Linked DNA regions of Homo sapiens: all the other regions are linked to region 3. Evidence: promoter capture Hi-C in 16 types of primary human blood cells and fetal thymus (Javierre and others, 2016). All regions are on one chromosome and are shown on one strand. Each heading gives the region's core, a stretch centred on a gene start or on the middle of the fragment in contact. The rest is flanking DNA. Distances are from core to core; before and after follow the strand shown.

The links. The method cuts DNA at HindIII sites, captures the fragments that hold promoters and counts their contacts. A CHiCAGO score of 5 or more calls a contact.
Region 1: a contact is called between a fragment that was not itself captured here and the fragment with the promoter of ZC2HC1A in region 3, in 1 of 17 cell types (naive B cells). The highest score is 5.7, in naive B cells.
Region 2: a fragment that was not itself captured here is called in contact with the fragment with the promoter of ZC2HC1A in region 3 in 1 of 17 cell types (monocytes); the score reaches 8.2 in monocytes.

Annotation. Positions count from the first base shown.
Region 1 is chr8:79,616,267-79,620,086 of GRCh38, forward strand. All of the region lies in intron 1 of STMN2 (stathmin 2), which reads left to right. Among named protein-coding and RNA genes, the nearest start is that of STMN2, 7.1 kb to the left of the region's middle. The HindIII fragment of the contact is 1,697 bases long and covers 723-2,419 here.
Region 2 is chr8:79,441,325-79,445,075 of GRCh38, forward strand. No RefSeq gene overlaps it. Among named protein-coding and RNA genes, the nearest start is that of MIR12123, 110 kb to the left of the region's middle. The HindIII fragment of the contact is 1,525 bases long and covers 1,063-2,587 here.
Region 3 is chr8:78,664,794-78,668,203 of GRCh38, forward strand. It overlaps ZC2HC1A (zinc finger C2HC-type containing 1A), which reads left to right and starts at 1,296. Exons shown (of 9, transcript NM_016010.3): 1 at 1,296-1,371. The coding sequence starts at 1,356. LOC105375911 (a long non-coding RNA gene) reads right to left here and starts at 1,186. Exons shown (of 4, transcript XR_007060972.1): 1 at 212-1,186. RefSeq lists enhancers at 419-927, 928-1,435, 1,400-1,449 and a silencer at 1,110-1,329. The HindIII fragment of the contact is 1,596 bases long and covers 711-2,306 here.

The sequences.
Region 1 (3,820 bases), core at 321-2,820, 950 kb after region 3:
GAGCATCTCCTTGTAGTGGTTTTCTGTTTATTAGAAAATCGATGTTAATTTTAACGAAGTAAGAAGAAATATATAAGTATAAACTAATTTTGGGTATCATCAAAAGTGGATTTTTTAAATATGCATTGATAGAATTATTTTTTGATTACATTTTATGTAATTCTAATCCAGCTATAAAATATTTAATAGTGTCATATTACTGTGTTCCTCAAACTTTGATGTGCATATGAATTACCTTTGATTTTCATTAAAATGCAAATTCTGATTCAATACATCTGGCTTGAGGCAGACATTCTGTCTTCCGAACAAGCTCCCAGATGATGCTGATTCTGACCACTAAACACATCAGTTTTAGGGATATTAACTTGTAATATACAGGTATCCCTCCTGGTAAGCTCTGGTATTATGTCTTAACATTTTTAAATCTATGGTAATCTTTACAAAATATTTTACTTCCGAACTCATATACCTGGGGATTTTATTACTCTGGGAATTATGTGTTCTGCCCCATCACTCTCTCTTAATTGGATTTTTAAAATTATATTCATATTGCAGGACTCGGCAGAAGACCTTCGAGAGAAAGGTAGAAAATAAGAATTTGGCTCTCTGTGTGAGCATGTGTGCGTGTGTGCGAGAGAGAGAGACAGACAGCCTGCCTAAGAAGAAATGAATGTGAATGCGGCTTGTGGCACAGTTGACAAGGATGATAAATCAATAATGCAAGCTTACTATCATTTATGAATAGCAATACTGAAGAAATTAAAACAAAAGATTGCTGTCTCAATATATCTTATATTTATTATTTACCAAATTATTCTAAGAGTATTTCTTCCTGAATACCATGTGAGAAAATTCTTAAGAATTTATTGAGTATGACTGTATATTTGAAAAGAGTGTTTTCTTCTGCTTATCTAAGCCAATAAAGGATCTTCATTATTCAATTCTAACTTTCTAAGGAAGTCAACCTACAGATCAGAAAGAGGATCTTCAAGGAATAGCATCAAAGACATAGTCAGGTCTCCCATGCAGTGACTGGCTGACCATGCAGCCATTACCACCTTTCTGGAAATATTATGCTGCAAAAATGATACAATACACGAAATATCTCAAATTAAAAAATATAACATTTCCCAAATAGGGCACTAAAAACATGATCCCAAATAAAACTAGCTTCAGGGTTTGCAGAATATACTGTTACTCAACACAAAGTTGGACTAAGTCTCAAAGTTAGCCATTCAGTTGTTGTTAACAGTTCATTTCAGGGTCTCTCAGAAGCTGGGAAACTTTCCATTTTTGCAATTTCTTGTACATTGAAGGAAAGGAAGACACACTTAAGACAGCATTACAAAAGTAATTCATGTTTTAAATGTTTAATTCTGGCAGTCGGGCAGGGCTCTCTGTATAACCTCATTTGGAGATGACAAAAATCTAAACTTGAGGGCCTCGAGCCAATAAGTCTTCCTATTTCTTTACTCAAACATTTTCCCGCAATGGTGCTTTCTTTCAACTGTTTTTCTGGTGTATTCATAAATTCCAGATTCTCTATGGGAAGTAACTTTTATTGATTGATTTAACCCTTGTATAGCACATATAACATGCAAGGCATTGTTCTAAGAACTTTCCACATATTAACTGTGTTAATCACTTAATAATCCTAAGTAGGTTCTATTACAGATATGGAAACTGAGGCACAGAAAGTTGAAGTATCTTACTCAAGGTCACACAGTTAGTCAGATCCAGAATTTGGGCCCAGGCCATCTGGCTTCGGAATCCATCTTTCACCGATTGCTGCTAGTCTCATATCTGTTCCATGTTAGAGGTGAGCTCCCATTGCAGAGGTCACACCTGTGATATCACCATTTTATTTAAACAGACCAGAGATGGTCTTCTCCTTTCTGATCACAGACTCACCTTGAAGAGAAAATACTTCCAAATTGATGCCTAGTTTTAATAGCTTACCTGGGGCTTATTCAAATAATTGCCATGATTTAGGCTTTGGGAGAAAGAGAGCTATGAGGCCGTGTGGGTTGTAACGTATGAGACACATGGCGTTCTGCAGGCTCAGCACAGCATCGATTTCTGGTGGGAACACACTCTGATGACCAGTTCCAGAAATAACATTGACTTAATCTCCTCAGTCCCATCATGGTTAGCACATTTCAAAATGCCTCCTTAACTACTTCCATAGGCCAGAGATATTTAGTTTTAACATTTTGTTGAATAAAATAAATTTACACATTCACATTTAATATAACTATTAGATGTTATTTCAAGATTCTCTTCATATTACCATCAAAGCAGGCAGGCAGGCAGGAGAGAACTGTAGGAAGGTTTTGAATCCCTTGTGAAACATTTTTAATTATCTTTTAATAAAGGAATCAGGCCCTGTCATTTGTCAAGGAGACATTTGCAGTAGTAAAGCTTGTGTTTATAATATCCATTTTTATTAGTCATGATTAAAGATAACATTTGTGTACATTTGTTCTCACAAAACACTTTTATATGAGTGTAAAGGTTAATTAATGCATTTCAGCCATCATTTTGCTGGTCATGTGGAAATATAGCTTCTTTAGGAATTGTACTTAGAGTAGGAGCCACATATTATACTATAAAACCATAACAAAAATATTTTAAGTTTGTTCTCACTTGTTGTTGACCTCCAGAGTAAAATATTTAATACTCTGGAAAGTTATGGGTTTCAAAATTTATTTTATGGCAAGAAATAGATAATTACAGTTCTCATAGAGCACATTTAAAATAATTTATTTTTATAGGGCAAAAATATTGCCTAGGACTGAATGATTTTTTTTTTTTTACAAAGATTGTAAAGCAACGCCTGCAAGAGTGCCCATTTAGCAGTTATTCTTCTGGAATAATTGTATTTTGGATGTTGGAGTTCGCACATTAACCATTAGTACAAGTACCCAATATAACAATAGATCATCAGGATAATAAATCTGTCCATCTTTTAGTTGTATGTCTTTATATCAGGATAAAGAGAATTGAGTGAAATTTATCTAAACCTAGTCCCACAAATACTTTTACAAGAGAGCATGTTAAAGTGTAAATTAAATTTTTATTAGCATTCTACTCTGTCTTTGGAAGTTTTTTTTCCTTATGAAATGCAGCCATAAAGTTTAACTTCCATTAACAAAGCTGCTCACAGTAAACCTATTATAATAATAGTTTCCCAGTTTGGGCTTCCTAGTGAGGAGCAACCTAACTCACACGAAACAACCCCAACTTATAATATATTGACTGTTACAAAACTGAGACCAGAAAATCCCATCAAGATGGTACTGTTATCATTTCCAGACTCTCGGGAAGAACATTAATCATCTCAGGCACTTTTAGGATAGACTTATTGCAGCCTCCCTGGGAACTCTGCTTCAGAACATAATTATTTTTATTAATGCAGAGTTACTTTTTATTTCCAACAAAAATATCTATTGTTATTATTTAAGTCTTACAGCTTTATCTGAGAAATTCCAATTAGCACCCTTCTCATAATAAATATTCAAACACATGAAAAATTACCAAAGTTGTTCTAGTCTTTTAATGACATATTACATGATCCTGCACTCTTGTCACTTTAAAAATTATCTTTTTATTATATTTCTGATGATTTTTTTCTTATATAGTTTTTTAAAAGGAGCAGGCAAGCATAGAAGACTAAAAAATGTTCAAAAGAAAAATTAAATCGCATGATCTATCTATATGGGACCTTGTCATTTTTAGAAAACATTCACCTGCTTCATCCTTTTGAATCTTCATATAATCCCTCTGAGATGGGCATACTATACAAGTTGTCTTATTTAAA
Region 2 (3,751 bases), core at 575-3,074, 780 kb after region 3:
CTTCCATTTACCCCTCCAGAACTACTGTTCACTCTTCTCCACCCTACTGTCTACCCTGAGAAGTTTAACCTGCATAAATTCTATAAATAGGTATGAGCCTGTGGCCCACTTGCTTCCTGTTGAGTGCTGCTGATGGGAAACAGATCGGAGAGAAAGAAGAGGGGGGGATCAGGTCACTGATTTCCCTGCCGCCTTCCTTCCCAAGTGGTCTAGAGCTGGTGGTGGCCCTTAAAAAGGGGGGCATACCATTTCTTTCAAGGAGGTCTTCTCTACATGACTCTCTCCTTCCAGGTTCCAGTAACCACACCTTCACTCACCCTTTCAGTGCTAAGTGTGGAAGCAGAACCTATGCTTCTGGCCAGCCTCCCTGCTGTGGATCTCCTACTAGACCTTGCCTACTTTATCAATAGTCCCTTCATGTAGGAGGTTGAATAATGGCTACCCAATCATCTCTGGAACCCACAAATTTTATCTTATATAAAAAAATTATCTGTCAGATCTGATGAAGTTAAGGATCTGGAAATGGGAAGATTAACCTGGATTACCAGGGTGGGCCTAAAGGCAATCACAACTGTCCTTGTAACAAACAGAAGAAAAGACACAGACAGAAGAGGAGGAGGCAAGATGACCACGAAAGCAGAGACTGAAGTGATGCAGCCACAAGCCAAGGAATGCCAGAAGCCAGCCCAGAAATGGGCACAGACTGATTCTCCTCTAGAGTCTCCAGAGCACGACCCTGACAACACCATGATTTCTGTCCTATGATATTGGTTTTGGACTTCTGGTCCCCAGAATTAAGAATAATATTTTCTTGTTTTGAGCCACCACATCCGTGATAATTTATTACCTCAGTCAAAGGATCTAATATAGTTTGTTAATAAATTCTCCTCAAATTATCCTGATTATTCTGATGAGGCATTATCCTATTATTATTTGATGCAGGGTTTTTATCATAAGTGTTTGGAGAAGAGCAAAGTCCCTAAAATTACATAGAAAACTATGAGTATACCTCGGTAAATCTATTAAAAAGAAGCCTGCTAATTTTCATCAGACTCTCAGAAAAGCTTCTTCTAGCTTATTCTGTCCCAATAGGTTACAAGTTAAGTTGTTAAGCTGAATTTTGGCAGTTGCCAGCCCACATTTTATCACTGGAAAAGTGGTAGAGCCCTTGACCCCACCTGGTATTCTGGACAAGACACAGCCCGAGGGCCAGGCTGGAAGAAAAAGTTGCCTTTTTAATGACATTTAGCACCTTAGGTTTTATGCAAAGCTACTCGTTTGTTTCCAAATTTTTTATTATTCTGACTTTTCAGGATATTGTCCGGTATCAAGGAAAGAATCTTTTATGTTCTAGAAAATAGTTTGTTTAAATCTAAATCCATGACTTTCCTGAAAAATTTCAGCCAAACTTAGACCAGCTAAGCAGCCCAGATGGGGCAGCCCAGTTATGTATGGTCACACACCCACCAGTAGAACATTTGAGGCATGTGTAGCTCTTCTTTAAGGATTCACACATTCATCTATTTATTCTTGTAGTAGTTGAGAAAATTGAACCAAAGATGAATAACATATAGTCTTTGTTACAAAATTATCAGCTACGCAGTTTACTAAATTGACTTATCACAACAGTGTCCCGAAGTAGGCAGTAATGAACCTTGTGATGGGATCAAGGAGTGAGAGATTAACAAAGGGAGATACCAAGCAGCATCTCAAATATAGGTAAGAGTTTGCCAGGCTGCAGGGCACACCATACCAGAGACAGGAAAAATGGCCCCAAACTTGAAGCTGTCACCATTAAACTCGTTTTGATCAAGTCATAAACTGTGTTTTCGAACTGCAGTGGAAAATGCATGGATATACCACCATGTGTTTATCCACTTATATATTGTTTCCATTTTTGTCTAATACAAATAAAACTGTTGTGAATACGTGTGTACAAATGTTTGAATGGGTGCATGCATTTTTCTTGGGTAAATACATGGGGTGGAATGGTTGAGTGTATGCTTAACTTTTTAAAGAATTGCCAACTCATTTTCCAAAGTGGTTGCATCATTTTACATTTCTACCAACAGTGTATGAGTTCATCTTGTTCCACACCCTCCTCAACATAGTATTCACAGTCTTTTTCATTGTAGACTTTTTAATAGATAGGTACTGGTATCCCTTTTTAGTTTGCATTTCCCTAATGAGTAAAGATACTGAGCATGTTTCGTGTTTACAGTATACATACAAAATGTATTTGGCAAAATGACTGTTCAAATATTTGTCTTACTTGTTAATTGGGAGGTTTGTACTCTTATCAATGAGTTGTTAAGTGTTCTTTGCATATTCTAGATACATGTCTTTTTGGACATATGTTTTGAAAATATTTTCTCCCATTCTGTAGCTTGTCTTTTTATTTCTTAACTCTTTTGAAAACAAAATGTTTTTAATGTTGACAAAATCTAATTTGTGTACGTGTGTGTGTGTGTTCTGTATAGCTAAGTGGGGATGAAGAACCATCAATAACCACTTCCTCTGACTCAGGAGAGGAAGTGGTGAAACAGAAAGTGATAATGGATAATTGCATATAGCTATAGGGAAGAAAAGCTTAAAAAGCATAACTTATAGCCCAAATTTTCTCTATGTAATATGATATGCAACTATGCTGCTATATGAAATGGGAGTAGGATATGGGATAAAAATTACAAACATCTTAAAAAGAACTAACATTTAGTGAGAATTTACTATGTGCCAGTGACTATTCTAAATACTCTTCTTGGCTTAACTCATTTAATCCTAAAACTCTCCAACTCTTCAAATATTTAAGCTAACCCCAACCACTCACCATCACAAATTCATCATCCCTAAATATTTGGAACTTAGCACAAAATCTCATATCCTTTTTTACACTGTTTTACTTCCATTCTGTATCAGTTTACCCATAGAATTCTGGCATGGTAAGCTCTCCTGAGCTTAATTTCTGCCTCCTAACCGCTGCTGGGTTTCAGGGGTGGACTTCACCTCTCTGATATTAGAATTCCAGCTATTTCTTTTATGTATTTGTATAAGTTTAGAGGTACAAGTGCAATTTTGTTACATGAATATATTGCTTAGTGGTGAAGTCTGGGTTTTTAGTGTAGCCATCACCCAAATAGTGTACATTGTGTCCATTAAGTAATTTTTCATCACCCACCTTTCTTTCTGAGTTTCATCAACCTCTCACCTTTCTGATTCTCCACTCTCTACCATTCCATACCCTATGTTCATGCGTACACATTATTTAGCTCCCACTTCTAAGTGAGAACATGTGATATTTTACTTTCTGTTTCTGAGTTGTTTCACTTAAGATAATAGCCTCCAGCTTCATGCATGTTGCTGCAAAAGACATAATTTTCATTCTTTTTCATAGCTGAATGGTATTTCATGGTGTGTGTGTATATATGTATATGTATGAATGGTATTTCATGGTGTGTGTATATACATATACATACATACACATAAATGCATGTATATGTTGTGTGTGTGTGTGTGCATATATATATATATATATATATATATGTATATCACATTTTTCTTGTCCAATAATCCATTAATGGATACTTGGGTTGATTCCATATCTTTGCTATTGTGAATAGTGTCTTGATAAACATACATGTGCAGGTATATTTTTGATATAATGATTTATTTTCCTTTGGGGAAATAGCCAGTAGTGGAATTCTGGATTGAATGGTTGTTCTATTTTTAGTTGTTTGAGAAATCTCCATATAAT
Region 3 (3,410 bases), core at 46-2,545:
AGGCTATGGGTTGGCCAAGGAGGCCCAGGATCTCAGAGAAGCAGAAGAGCCAGGGGAACCAGGGAAGGGCGGAGGGAGTCATTGAGGCATGGTTGAAGTGGTCTTTACATGGCTCCACACAACAGATGGACTCTACCACATTCAAATGCACTTGGAGCACCTTCTCAGTAAGAGATGATGCCCCCTCAAGTGTTTGCTTGTTTAAACATACCTTCATGTGAGTGGAGAGTAGGAGGAATCCTGCTTCCTGAAGGTAACTGATTTCATAGTAGATGAAGTTAGATATGAAGTTAAACTCTTCAATTAAACAGATTAACAATAACATTAATCCGAGGTTTGTTATGGACAACACATTAATACTGGTAACTTGCCAGTAGATACGCTATAGTCAGCAAACAGTACAGCTTGTTTACGATTGCTAAATCAAATTTTCAAAGAAATGTAGTTCTGGTAATTGTAAGCAAAACCGTTAAAATGGTCTGAGTTAGTTTTGAAGTTACTTTCATCTTCAGGAGGTTTTGAACTCTGTTAGAGACGGGCGGGCCTCATTCTGTCAGGTTGTAGGTTAATTCCCCAACTCAAACTTCCCCGATCAAACATTGTCAGGCCAGGCGACTGTTTTGGTTTATGGATGATAAAGTATAGGGCCAAGGTAGGCCAAGAGTAGAAGACAGAGGGAGGGCTGGGTTTCACTTCTAATTTTTGGCCCAAGCTTTCATGGTGAGGAAACTGTTTTCAAGGGCTTAGAGCAATCGCAGTTCCACAATCGCAGATAGAAAGTATGATTTCTCTGGAAAAAAAGTGTCTTAACCTATGAAGCTGTGTGTGAAGATCAAGTGTAGGGGATACGCTGAGGTCAAGTCATGCGACCAAAGACCGGAAAACGGAGATTGCTGCATGCAAGCGTGCTGGGCGTTTGTTTGGTTTGCTTGCCTGCTTAAAGTATCCACTGGGAGGGATGGCGGCTAGAAGTCAGAGGCATTGACTGATTGAGGAACTGGTGAAGCGGAGCCCATGAGGTGCTGAGGTACTCTAAATAGGAGGATAAGGTATGAGGCAAAACAAGGCTGGAGTCAAACAAAGGCGCCGTTGCATCGCAGATTGCAACCTGAAGCGGCTCCCGGCTCCCTGGAGAGTAACCCGGAGAGACGGACAGGGGTGGCAGCCAGGAGGAGACCGCAGGAACCTCGCCTCCGCCGCGGCCCCGCCCCCACGGATCCCCGCCCCCGCAGTTGCGGAACCAATGGGAGCTCGGAATGTTAGCGGGTGGGAGGTGCGGCTGGGTTGCTACAGCCAGAGCTGGGCGGTGGCGGGCGCTGCTGAAGGAGTCTCGCTGAGCTCGAGGAGGTGGCGCGATGGAGGGACTGGAAGGTGAGGCGATGAAGGGATGAGGGCAGGACGGCTAGAGCGGGCCCGAAACAGCTGGGGACCCTGGACACCAGTAGCAGGAAGGCGAGGGCTGGTTCGGTGCGGCGGACCTCGCCGCGTCCCGCCGCGCCTCCGGAGGCTGGGGCCGAAGGGAACCGGACAGTCCCCGATGCGGTGGAGCTAACGCTACCAGGCTGCCCCGCCTCAGACGGTCTTCAACTGGGCTTTCCCGCCCGGAGCCAGATCCTGCCCCTGGCAAGACGCCTGCACGTCTCTTCCTACCATTTTCTGATCTTGCTTGACTCCTGAGTGCCCTTTTAGTGATCCCAGTCTCTGGCCAGATTTTGTTTTCCTTGTACTGGACTCTCTCCATTATTGTCCACGGCCTTAACACCAACAGGCCACTTTGTGCTGCAGCCCCGGGGTGTGTCTCCAGCCTCGAGCTCCTGACATTCCTTGGCCGATTTCCCTAGGTAACCGGCTTTTTACATTTCGACAGCATCTTCTGTCGGAGGGATGTCAGAGCATCTCCTAAGGAAGTGTCACTGGCCAGCTTTAGAGCCGGTACAATAGATTACCCGGAGGATTTGATGACTTATTCACGGCCGCTGTGTGAGGAAGAGCCTGTATTGGTTCCTTATCTTTGGGTTTATCTTTGTACTGTAACCATGACTCCAGATTTTGCTTTGTTCCCAGTTCTTTCACTTTTTCTCTATTCTGTTTACCCATTTTATCCTGTGTAATGAAAGCATTCACCTAAAAACAAAGGAAGGACAAAAACCACAATAACTAGCATTGGCAACAACAGTTTCAAGATTTTTTAATTTGTTATGATGAAGAACAAACCTTCAGAATTGAAAGATCCTATTGTCTTGATTTAGCTCCTTTCCCCCGTCTCCTAGTTTACACGGATTCAGTTGGAATTAAGAATGAGCAGAAGCTTTTGAGTCTTGTGTATTGTTGCATGCCAGGGAGTAAAATATTCTACATTGTGTGATGAAGTGCAAAGTGGTAGCCGGTAACTTTTTCAGTCACCTATTCACCAAAAAGCAGATGTAATAACATGAGTAGAAGTTTATTTCGTGCTTTTGCTCTGATAAATGATTCTGATAATTTTCCGTTTGTGGACAGCTGCAGTATGCTATGGCCTAATGAAGGTCTTGTTTTTTGCTTATGTGTTTTTGGAAGATAATTCAAGTTTCCATGAAATAAGGAATTGTAATGATAGTACAGTATATTTTACTTTCAAGATACTTTTGTATCTTGGTGGGATTAAAGCATGGGTTATGGAATTCTCATGAGATTATCATATATAATATGATAAGGTTTTATTACATATTATCTATAAAGTGTTTTGAACAGTTTGCAGATTTTTATTATTTTATTCAACATTTGTTATTAAGACAAAGATCATCATCTGATTTTTCACTTATGTATCCTAGGCACCTAAAACAATGTCTGACACAAAGTAGGTACTCAATAAATATTTGTTGTTAAATAAATGTCTATTATGGGCATCTTTTTAGGTTCTAGGTTGCAGCAAAGAATAAAAATGATAAAGCTTTACTCTCATCGAACCTACATTTTAGTGGACCTTACATTTTAACAGTGCTAAGATATTACTATTGAAACCTTACTACGAATGTTTTTAAAATATAATGGAAACCTATTATGACACTCAGTTGCATAGGTGGACAAAGGTAGGATTCTGTATTTATAGGCATATTTTATGGGTCCAGCTTATGATGTTATAGGGCCCAGCTTATGATGTTAATAGTGCTTGCCCTTTACTTTTAGATTTTTTTTTTTTACAAAATAAGATGCTATCATTAACTATAATGTGTTTAATTGTGATAAACTGAGTTGAAATATGTGAAGTTGCCCTAAATTATGTAGGGCAAAACAGTTGAATTCTGGTAATTTCAAGCAGTTCAATCTAATAAAAGCTCTTGAGAATTTTCTGTTGAAGTTAGGATGGTGCCTTTCTCTCCTTCCTCCTTCTCCCCTCTCCCTCCCCTAAGAGATCACACCTTGCAAATATC